Linked DNA regions of Homo sapiens: regions 1, 2 and 4 are each linked to region 3. The links are contacts of gene promoters, found by promoter capture Hi-C in blood cells and fetal thymus (Javierre and others, 2016). All regions are on one chromosome and are shown on one strand. Each heading gives the region's core, a stretch centred on a gene start or on the middle of the fragment in contact. The rest is flanking DNA. Distances are from core to core; before and after follow the strand shown.

Region 1 (2,700 bases), core at 144-2,643, 220 kb before region 3:
GTGGAAGCTGGAATTACAGAGAACTCTTAAGTTTCAAATTCTGACTTTGAATCTGACCCAGGACCAGTTCACTCTCATGTACAAGAACGCACACACTTGCATGCAAGCACACAGACACACACATATATCGATGGCCTGTACTCCATTTGTCATCATGCAGGTTAAGGAACTCAGACCACAGAGATATACAATAAGAAAAACAGTCTCTATTACTGTATTGGGCTCCAGAATGTAAACAAGTGGCTTCTAGTAAGATGGAATAAGACTTTTAAAATGAGAAGAATGAACAAGCAAATGTTCATTCAACTGGAGAGTGACCACTGGTGAAAAATCTTGTAAAATAAAGACGTTTGGCTCCAACTTGGAGACGATGGTCATGAAAACATTGTAAGACAAACTAACGATCAGGAGGTCAGCAAAAATAATCTACCTATTACCTATCATGGGACTGAACTTCCCAGTCTATATAGACTCCTGTTTTTTTTGTTTGTTTGTTTGTTCATTTTTTGAGATGGAGTTTCGCTCTTGTTGCCCAGGCTGGAATGCAATGGCATGATCTCAGCTCACTGCAACCTCCATCTCCCAGGTGCAAGCGATTCTCCTGCCTCAGCCTCCTGAGTAGTTGGGATTACAGGCATGTGCCACCACGCCCGGCTAATTTTGTATTTTTAGTAGAGACGGGGTTTCTCTATGTTGGTCAGGCTGGTCTCGAACTCCCGACCTCAGGTGATCCACCTGCCTCGGCCTCCCAAAGTGTTGGGATTACAGGCATGAGCCAGCATGCCCGGCCAGACTCCTGTTATTATCACAGGAGAACAAAAGGAATAAAATAGTGATGAGTTAATATTAAATAGTTTTGTCAACTTCCATCATGGAGAAATCCAGATAAATTCAGAATGTTTAAACAACCCAAGGGTCAACAACTGAGAATTTCACATCTAATATTCACCGTGTGAATTCATTAGTCTCCGTAGCTCTTCAGAGCACTAAATTTTACCTTAGGTCCCTACGTAGACCTTTATTTTAGTTACCTTTTAATTCTCTAGTCTGTCCTCCTCTTTCTGAATTACTTTTCCCTGGAATCTTTAATTAAAGAAGACAGAGCATGAATAAATTTACAAATCAAGAATAATGATGTCTCATTTAAGGATTTTCAGGTGATGTGGTCACTGCAGCATCAATGATGCACATATATTTGGTTTCTAAGTGATGCAGGATCTGAATCTAAATTGCAGGAGGTTTATGACAGTTGATAATCATCATTTATTAAAAGGAAGCATAACAAACAGCTACTATACTTATCTGTTCACATCAGATGCAAAAAAGCCAAATGTACAAAAAGATCCATTCCTTAGTACCTGTGTTACTGTTCAGATGTTCCTGTGGTATAAGCCTGGGCAGACCTTAGTGTTCTGAAGTTTTCTCCCTCTTCTCAGCACCTTCTCTCTCTGTCTCTCTCTCTCTTATGTCTCTGTCTCTCTTCTCTCTCTCTCCTCTCTCTCACCTATCTCTCTACTCCCATCCCCTTATTTCTCTCTCTCTGTCTCTAGCTCTCATTCTCTCCTATCTTTCTTTCTTTCTTTCTTTCTTTTTTGAGACAGAGTCTCACTCTGTCGCCCAGGCTGGAGTGCTGTGGTGCGATCTCAGCTCACTGCAGCCTCCACCTCCTGGGTTCAAGCAATTTTCTGCCTCAGCCTCCCGAGTAGCTGGGACTACAGGCACACATCACCACACCAGGCTAATTTTTGTATTTTTAGTAGAGACGGGGTTTCACCATGTTGGCCAGGCTGGTCTCGAATTCCTGACCTCAAGTGATCCGCCCACCTTGGCCTCCCAAAATGCTGGGACTATAGGCATGAGCCTCCGCATCTGGCCTCTCTCCTAGTTATCTCTCCTCTCTTCCCCTGCCACTTTGTCTCTCTTTCTCTCTCATTGGGTATCACTTCTGACTCCTCTGTAGCTCTCATCACTTTATGTTCTCCGTGCCAGGAATGTCCATGCTCCTGGTCTCCTGCCTGGTCTGCCCTCAGTCCGCCCTTCTCGCTGGCATCAGGGAACTCTCATTGCGTCACATCTCTGCATAAAGTCTAAAGTCCTGAGTAAGTGCTGCAAGGCTTCTCATAATCTGGCCCCACCTGACAGGCAGGCACTCTTCCACAAACACTGCATCCCAGCGGCACTGACCTACTTAGTTTCTGGACCCTGGTATCGTGAAACTCCCTCTGTGCCTCTGATCATGCTCTTTGTTCTGTGGGAAAATCATTCCTCCTCAGTCCAAGGAAGGCTACCTCCTTCTAGAAGGCCTGGAGTCCCACTCTACCTCCTCCCATGCACTAGACGACTTCTGGAACTCATTCTTTTAGAAAACTTGTAGCCAGCTAGTGTCTCCAAACACCAAATTCCCATTTTCTTTAGTCAAGGGCCAAAATGCAGGCTTCTCAGGTCATCTCTTTGGCTACACTCTAACATCCACAAGAGATCTGATCTTCCTCGCCATTCACCAACCTCTCATTGCTCCCTCTCTGCATAACCTTTATCTGAGCCCTCTAGAACTTCATTCCATGGTAAAAATCTCTCATCTGAAGCCATATCACCAATGGGTCCTTCTCTCCACCTTGCTCATCCTTGCAGGGACACTGCGTCTCCCCTGTTCTCCTCTCAAGGGGATGCCACTTATTCTCCCTCACCCCACAGACTGCA
Region 2 (2,700 bases), core at 142-2,641, 150 kb before region 3:
GGCTGAGGCACAAGAATCACTTGAACCCAGGGGGCAGAGGTTGCAATGAGCTGAGATCATGCTACTGCACTCTAGACTGGGAGACAGAGTGAGAATTGGTCTCAAAGAAAAAAAAAAAAAGCGAAATGATCTTTTTTAGACACAAGAAAACTCTTGTATTGGCTAATGGGGGTGGAGTGAGCATGGAATGCACAAAATTTAGGAGAGACTGAGGAGCAATCAGCCCCAGGGAATTTAACAGCCTCAGGCCAGAACAAGAAAGTCTTGGGGGACAGACCTTCCCACGTGTGCTGGATTCCCCTGCACTCCACCCTGGGGTTCAGGGTGAATTGCCTTTAGTTTGCACCTTGGTTGAGAGGAGGCCACTGGGCACAGAGAGCGGCCAAGGATTAATGACCTGGATCCCATTCGGATGACTGTGTCCACCAAACCCTCACATCCTTCCTTCTCCAGCAGTACTAAGGTGACTATCTTCTCAGCTAGCTTCACCCCCATCTCTGGGTTGGTCAAACCACCAGATTTTCTCCTGATTCACGCTCTGAGGCACACTGTGCAAATTAATCATAGATGCCTGCCTGTGAGAGGGAAAGAATCCTCTACAACCATGGGTCAAACCCAAATCTATGGAGTCCACGGCTTTTTCTTTTTTTAATCTTTCTCCTATCTGACTGCGTGATGGTTAGTATCTGTTGAGTGCCAACAGACTTAGGTGAGGATCAATAGAAAAATGTGGGCCAGGCATGGTGGCCACCTCACTTTGGGAGGCTGAGGTGGGAGGATAGTTTGAGGCCAGTAGTTCAAGACCAACCTGGGCAACACAGTGAGACACCCCCCGCCACCCCCAAACTCTGCAAAAAATTAAGAAATTAGCTGGGCGTGGTGGTGTGCACCTGTAGTCTTAGCTACTCAGGAAGCTGATGCAGGAGGGTGTCTTGGGCCAAGGAGTTCAAAGTTGCCATGAGCTGTGATCATGACACTGCACTCTAGCCTGGATAACAGACGAAGACCCTATTTCTTAAAAAAAAAAAAAAAAAGAAGAAGAAGAAGAAGGAAAGAAAAAAGAAAGAAAGAGGCCAGACGCAGAGGCCCACGCCTGTAATCTCAACACTCTGGGAGGCCGAGGTGGGCAGATCACCTGCGGTCAGGAGTTCAAGACCAGCCTGCCCAACATGGTGAAACCCCATATCTACTAAAAAAATATAAAAATTAGCCAGGCATGGTGGCAGGCGCCTGTAATCTCAGCTACTTGGGAGGCTAAGGTAGGATAATTACTTGAATCCTGGAGGCAGAGGTTGCAGTGAGCCAAGATCGTGCCACTGCACTCCAGCCTGGGCAACAGAGTGAGACTCTGTCTCAAAAAAAAAAAAATCCAAAAAAAAAAAAAAGAAAGAAAAGAAAAGAAAGAAGGAAAGAAAAGAAAAGAAAGAAGGAAAGAAAAAGGAAAGACATAGAATAGTTGGGCACAGTGGCCAAAGGAAGTGGAAGAGGAAGGGGTGAAAAAGGAAGTATTTCTTGGTCGGGTGTGGTGGCTCACGCCTATAATCCCAGCAATTTGGAAGGCCAAGGTGGGCGGATCACCTGAGGTCAGGAGTTCAAGCCCAGTCTGGCCAACATGGCGAAAACCTGTCTCTACTAAAAATACAAAAAATTAGCCAAGCGTGGTGGTGCATGCCTGTAATCCCAGCTTCTAGGGAGGCTGAGGCAGGAGAATCGCTTGAACCCAGGAAGCAGAGGTTGCAGTGAGCCGAGATCACGCCACTGCACTCTAGCCTGGGCAACAGAGTGAGACGCTGTCTCAAAAAAAAACAACAAAAAAAGGAAGTATTTATTTCAGGTCTAAAGAAGGCCTTGAGGAGAGAAAACAAAAGAAAAGAAGGTAGCTAATTAAGTGAGGGAAGAACAACTGTGGGCCCTTTGCAGGGAAGATGTGTGGCAATCATACCACTAGCTACCTAACATTAACTGAATACTTAATATGTGTTAAGAATTTGTTATAAGGACATTGCCTATATTATCTCATCTAAGCCTCCCAACTGTTGACCTAAGGAAAGAAACTGAGGCAAAATTAATATAGTTTATTTGGGCCAGGGTTGAGGACTGTAGCCCAGGACACTTCCAATTTGCCTTGGGGAATGCTGCCTTTGGCCTTTGTTACTTTGTTACAAGCAGGTTTTAAAGACAAAAAGGGGACAGGGAGTGGTCTGATAAAAAAATCTTTTGGAATCCTCATTAGTTTACAGAAGTAACATTAACGAGTGATTGGGTATACATTGTTGAACTATAGGGTATGAGTTATGGTGTCCAGTGTATGCAATTTTATGGAGTCTTGGCATCAGATACTCTAGAGCTCACATAAGCAAGTGGCTTCAAGAAGTAATTATTTAGCTCAAGGGGCAATGAGACATGACTTCTGTCACACATTGTCATGTTTCAGTGCTGCTTTGGGCCTGATAATGAAAGGAGGCCTGCATTCCTCAGATAAGAAGTTTCTTTCTCACAACCCCAAAGATAGATATTATCATTCTGATTTTGCTGATGAGGAACCCAAGACATAGATAAAGTAGATTGTTCAAGGTCCTGAAATGAGTGGTGGGTCAGAATGCAAATCCACCAAGGCGGACTCTAGAACCCAAGTTACATCTCCACCCCTCCCACCCACCCCTTACACTCCCAAGGGATTAGAACAGCTACCCAGTGAGA
Region 3 (2,700 bases), core at 12-2,511:
GCTCTTTCTCCCAAGATAAGGTCCAATGACCATCATATTTTGATCATTACTCCTTGGTGTCTGACAACTCCCTGCACTGCAATTTACATCCTTTAAAACCAGCATTGTTGGAAATGGACTGACTACATTGTGAGGGTCAGAATGTGAGTGTCTTTCAGATACTGTAATGTGTGATAGGCATCCCTCCAGGGTTGCTATACAGCTCACCCCAGGTCAAAGAACTACATCCCAGTCCAAACAGTATCCACATGAGAGCTGATAGGCATCAACGTTACTCACCTGCCTTTGCCAGACAGTTAATCCACCTATATGTGGGACAGAGCCTTGGTCTGGAAAACACTTTCAAGCCCACTGTCTCACTCTCTTGTCACTATAAATAACCTGGTGAGTTGGCAGTCCCGGCGTGAATGCCCACAATTTGCAGGTATGCAAACAGAACAGAGGGGCTAAGTTCCGTGGGTCACATGAGAGCTAGGCTGCAGCGCCTGGGGAGGCGGCCGTTCCCGCCCGGTGCGCTTGTTGTCCGCTGGAGCAGAGGCCCCCGAGCCTGCTGACCTCTCTGCCTTCAGGCCTGGTCTCGCAGTCCCTTGTGCCTCGCCTATAGGCAGGCGGAATCCAGAGCGTGCAGCAAGCCCGGCCGGCTCTCGGTGGCGGTTTCTACAGCAGGTGGGGCCTGGCTCCGTGATTGAGCGGCCTCTACCCCTCTATCTGGGGCCCAGCAGCGGCCCCCTCCCAGCACCCTGGCTACACGTCTAACCCTAGGCTGACCAGGTGGGGCTCTCGGAGGCGTTAGCCCCAGCCCTCCCAGGAGTCTTAATGTTCCTCTCACAGGAAAAAACGTTCTGCGCCCTTTGTGCCCCAAACCCTCGACCCTTCACTCGGCGAGAGGGGTCGCTGAGGGAGAGATCCACCTCTGCCCTTCCCGTTGCCCGCCGGTTCTTCCTCGCCCGCCTCTTACGCACCCCGCTCCCGCCGGCTCCTGGAAAGCCGGCCCCGGCCCCAGCGCTTCCCTCCCCGGCCTAGCCCCTCTCTCCCACCCTTCCGCTCGCCCAGGCCTTCACGCTCAGCTCCCGGTTTTTGTTGCCCGGGCTTGTTTCGGAGCTGAGCGCGCCGCCGGCCGGGCGCCAGGTCACGTGCGTTGGTGACAACCTCTCGCAGGGCGGCCCCGGGGCCCCCGCACCGCCGATTGGTGGGGCCCGGCCTGGCGCGGCCCGGGGCGGGGCAGCGGGGCCCGACGGCGAGCGGAGCGGCCGATCAGCTGTTGCGAGCGCTGCACAACAACAAAAGGACTTGGACTGGCCGGCCTGGGCGCAGCGACCCGAGGGCTGGAGCCGGCCCCGCGCCTGCCGTCTGGGTACCTGAACGAGGTGCAGCGCAGCCCGGCCCCACCGCAGCTACCTCAGCAGTCCCGCCCCGCCCGCGTCCTTCCCCGCCGAGCCGGCGGCCGCTCCCTTCCCCGCGCAGCCCCGCACGGCCCGGGCCCACGTAAGTGCCGGGGGGGGGCGGGCGGGCGTCCGTCCAGGGCCGCCTCGCTGCCGGTTGGGGCCGCAGCGCTGCCCGCTCCTGAGCCCGGCGGGGCCGGCCGCGCGCCCTGCCTTCGGGGCGCCGGTTGCGCGTTCACCGAGCCCCCTCGCTGCCTCCCCTCGCCGCCGCCGGGCCCGGCCGCCCACCCAGTGGGTCGGTCCTCGGCGGCCCCCGGGGCCCAGGGCGCGGACAGAGGCTGACAGAGGCGGCGGCGGCGCGGACAAGGGCCCGGCCTGGCCCCGGCGCTGGGCGGCGGTTGGGAGTTTGGTCTCTGCCTCCTCCCCCGAGCGTGGCTTGTTTTCTTGGCCGCGGCGGGACCTCCTCCTCTCACCCCTCCTCACTCCCCTCCACTCCTCCTCCTCCGCCTGCTCTCGGCCGTTGGATGGGGCCGCCCCTTCGGGACTCGGCGTCGGGGCTCCCGCGGCCACCCCCGGGACGCATCTCCGAAGACAGCGGCGCTTGGGCTTGTGGCCCGGCGCTCTGTCCCCGCCCTGCGATCCCGTCCCCTGCGCCTGCCCTCCGAGTTCCGGAGGCCCTGCGGCTATGGGGAACCTGCTCCGTGACCCGGCCACCGGCCCCCGCCTGTCCGCGGCCTGTCCCTTGCTTGACCTGGCTTGAACTCAGTCTTCGCTACCTGACTTTGCACCTGTGGAAAGAGCGCTCTCCTTGGCCCTTAACATTTAGATCCTTTGGATCGCTCACGCTTACTGAGCGCTGAGTATGTGCCATATACTATGCTGGGGGCTTTGCTTTATCGCCCCAGTTGATTCTCATAATAACCTTATATGAAATAGGCCCGGCTATCTTACACATAGGAAACCCGAGGCACAGAGAGATTAAGTTGCTCAAGGCCACACAGCCAATTAATAAAAGGAAATGGTGTTTGTATTTCAAAGTGGCAGCTGAATTTTACCTGGAGAGTCTGTTTTGCTTGTATTTTCTGATTATATCTGCTCAGTAGGTTAATTCCAATACAGAGTGGATTAAGGAAGAGCCTCTTTACAACTGTGACTCCCAAGGACTTGGGCATCTATTGCTAAAAAAGCCTTTTCTCAATGCACAATAGTTTTGGGAAAAGGGGGAACAATGTGACCCTTGGGGTCACTGAACAGAAGTCATAATGAGTTCCCCCACGATACTGAAATCACCAGCCTGGTAATTGAAATACATTTTCAT
Region 4 (2,700 bases), core at 99-2,598, 160 kb before region 3:
AGTGGTAGAAAATATATACAGAAAGTCAGCAAGATGACTCATAAGTACAGTCACTGAAATAGCTCAGCTTTTGTATACGGTGTGACAGATCTGCCAACAACTAACTAATGGAATAGAATAATGAATCACTTGGGACTAAAGTTATTTAAAAGTTCCTGTGAAGTACACCTCCATAGGCAGTTCCAGAAAATGCCATTGACTTTCAGCAAACATGGCTTTTGGTATAAGCGGGGAAATCACAGGAAAGTCACTTACTGGTGAACTCACAGCACCAGCTGCTTTTGCGGTCCTGTGGGCCTCCCTCACATTCACCTCCACCTGCCTGTCAGGGAACCACTGGGGTTCAGTGGTTAAACTTCTGGGACCATGCCTCTGGCTAAGGGTGAGGCACCCACTCCCCACCCTTCTCCTTTCTTCTCTTGTGCAAGCCTCAGGCCACTGAGGGCCCTTCTCCCTTTAAAGACAACACCATTCATTTTTTGTTTGTTTGTTTTATTATTATTATACTTTAAGTTTTAGGGTACATGTGCATATTGTGCAGGTTAGTTACATACGTATACATGTGCCATGCTGGTGTGCTGCACCCACTAACTCGTCATCTAGCATTAGGTATATCTCCCAATGCTATCCCTCCCCCCTCCCCCCATCCCACAACAGTCCCCAGAGTGTGATGTTCCCCTTCCTGTGTCCATGTGATCTCATTGTTCAATTCCCACCTGTGAGTGAGAATATGCGGTGTTTGGTTTTTTGTTCTTGCGATAGTTTACTGAGAATGATGGTTTCCAATTTCATCCATGTCCCTACAAATTTTGAGACGGAGTCTCTCTCTGTCCCCTAGGCTGGAGTGCAGTCGTGCCACCTCAGCTCACCGCAACCTCTCTGCCTCCCGGGTTCATGTGATTCTTGCCAGTGGCACTCATTTTATCTCTGACTTCTCTTCTCTAGTCCAAGGATGGAGGTGCAGATTGCTTGTCCAATGCAGTCTTTGCTCTTTCCTAACAAAAGCACTTATTTCCTTTCCTGGCTAAGCCTTCACTGCAGATGACCTCAGGAAGGCAAGCAGGGCTTGAAGGCAAGAAGAGTCAATGCAGGAAAGCCTCAGGGCTTAAGAAATCCCGCCAAGTTCTCACCTCCCGGAACCTGGATACAATTCCTGACCCCTGGAAGGTCCCTCAGACTCTGCGTACTCTGCACCTCACTGTATCATAAGCTCTGAGCTCTCCTCTCCCTGGGATGGGGATGGCGCAGAGTTGATCATTCCTCCATGAGACCTCCCTCCCAGCGCTTATACCTGCAGCTCCAGTGGGGACTGAATGATGAGTCAGCTACTATCCCCTCTGGCACCATTTGTCTGAAGTAAATAATTTAATTTTCGAAGGCCCCTAGACTGATGACACATCTTTTTTAAGTATTCCCTACTCCATAGAGAAATGATTCTCTCCAGGATTTTCCTCACACTCCCCACAAAAAATCAGACTAAAGTCAGGCCACCAGGTTTCCAGCCCTTCCTCTGCCACTTGCTTACAACCTGTGTGACCTCCGGCACATCACTGAACTTCAGTCAGTCTCAGTTTCCTCACCCGTAGGACTGTGGTGGTCTCAAAGAGATCGTCTACTCAGCACAGGCCCTGGTATACAGTGAGAATTAACACCAGGAGTCTTGCCAATATCTGCTGGCCAGGATCCAGCACCTAAGGGGGCAATGCCTGGCCTGGCAGTGGGCCATCTGGACTTTGCTCCATCGTGGCAACTGGCGTCCATTCAGATTTGTCAGCCCATGGGGCATCCTGGTTGCTAAACATTTTTAATCTTAGTGCTGTTTGTTTTTAATCTTAATGTTTGTACTGTGTGTGCTAAAAGCAAAGTCACACAGAGAAATATATACTAATGGGTCATCAAAGCACTGGGGAGGAGAGAGAGGAATCGGCAGGAGCATGGAGGGACAGGAGGGAGCAGGATGGCAAGGTGTCTTTTGTCTGCAACGTGGTAGGCAAACAGGATCTTAATGGTTTATGGTGTAACAGAGGAGTGTAGGGAAGATTGTTGTGTTGGTTTCCTGTGGCTGCCAGAACAGATTGTCACAAACTGAATGGCCTAAAGACAATAGAAATCCACTCTCTCATAGTTTTAGAGGCCAGAACGTTCAAGCTCTCTCTGAAGTCTCCAGGAGAGAATCCTTCCTTGCCTTTCTAGCTTCTGGTGACTGTAGGAGTTCACTGGCTTGTGTCAGTGGAGCTCCAGTCTCCCCCGTGTGTCTCTGCATCTTAAATCTCCTCTGCCTTTCTCTTATAAGGACACCTGTCACTAGATTAGGGCCCACCCTAAACCCATGATGATCTCATCTTGAGACCTTTCATGTCATTGTATCTGCAAAGAACGGTTTTTTAAATAAGGTCAAATCCACAGGTTCTGGGGGTTCAGATTTGAACATATCTTTCTGAGGGCCACTATTCAACCCATTACAATTACATACAAAAGCAGAGGCCTTTGCACTCTTAGTCTTTAACTTAAGCACATATGCAAAGCCCCTTTGGCCATGTAAAATAGCATAATTAGGTTCCAAGGATTAGGAGGTGGACATCTTTGAGGGGCCATTATTCTGTCCGCCATAGTTGGAAGCATGGGTTTCTTTCTAAGAACAGTAGGAATCAATGGGAGGTTTTAAGCAGAGGAGTGAAACCAGCAGAATCAGGATGCAAA

Evidence for each region. Contacts are between HindIII fragments. The CHiCAGO score rates a contact against its expected background, and 5 or more counts as called.
Region 1: a contact is called between a fragment that was not itself captured here and the fragment with the promoter of TP53INP1 in region 3, in 3 of 17 cell types (naive B cells, total B cells and neutrophils). The highest score is 8.5, in naive B cells.
Region 2: a contact is called between a fragment that was not itself captured here and the fragment with the promoter of TP53INP1 in region 3, in 1 of 17 cell types (neutrophils). The highest score is 8.3, in neutrophils.
Region 4: a fragment that was not itself captured here is called in contact with the fragment with the promoter of TP53INP1 in region 3 in 4 of 17 cell types (neutrophils, monocytes, total B cells and 1 more); the score reaches 18.2 in neutrophils.

The regions. Positions count from the first base shown.
Region 1 is chr8:95,169,511-95,172,210 of GRCh38, reverse strand. All of the region lies in intron 1 of LOC124901982 (a long non-coding RNA gene), which reads right to left. Among named protein-coding and RNA genes, the nearest start is that of PLEKHF2, 37 kb to the right of the region's middle. The HindIII fragment of the contact is 5,000 bases long and covers 1-2,700 here.
Region 2 is chr8:95,093,086-95,095,785 of GRCh38, reverse strand. It overlaps a transcript of NDUFAF6 not described here. Among named protein-coding and RNA genes, the nearest start is that of MIR3150BHG, 21 kb to the right of the region's middle. The HindIII fragment of the contact is 6,887 bases long and covers 1-2,700 here.
Region 3 is chr8:94,947,939-94,950,638 of GRCh38, reverse strand. TP53INP1 (tumor protein p53 inducible nuclear protein 1) reads left to right here and starts at 1,261. Exons shown (of 4, transcript NM_033285.4): 1 at 1,261-1,485. It also overlaps a transcript of NDUFAF6 not described here. RefSeq lists enhancers at 406-455, 626-795, 662-1,291, 1,292-1,920 and silencers at 916-1,025, 1,106-1,485, 1,706-1,845. The HindIII fragment of the contact is 4,012 bases long and covers 1-2,700 here.
Region 4 is chr8:95,111,957-95,114,656 of GRCh38, reverse strand. It overlaps a transcript of NDUFAF6 not described here. Among named protein-coding and RNA genes, the nearest start is that of PLEKHF2, 20 kb to the left of the region's middle. The HindIII fragment of the contact is 8,286 bases long and covers 1-2,700 here.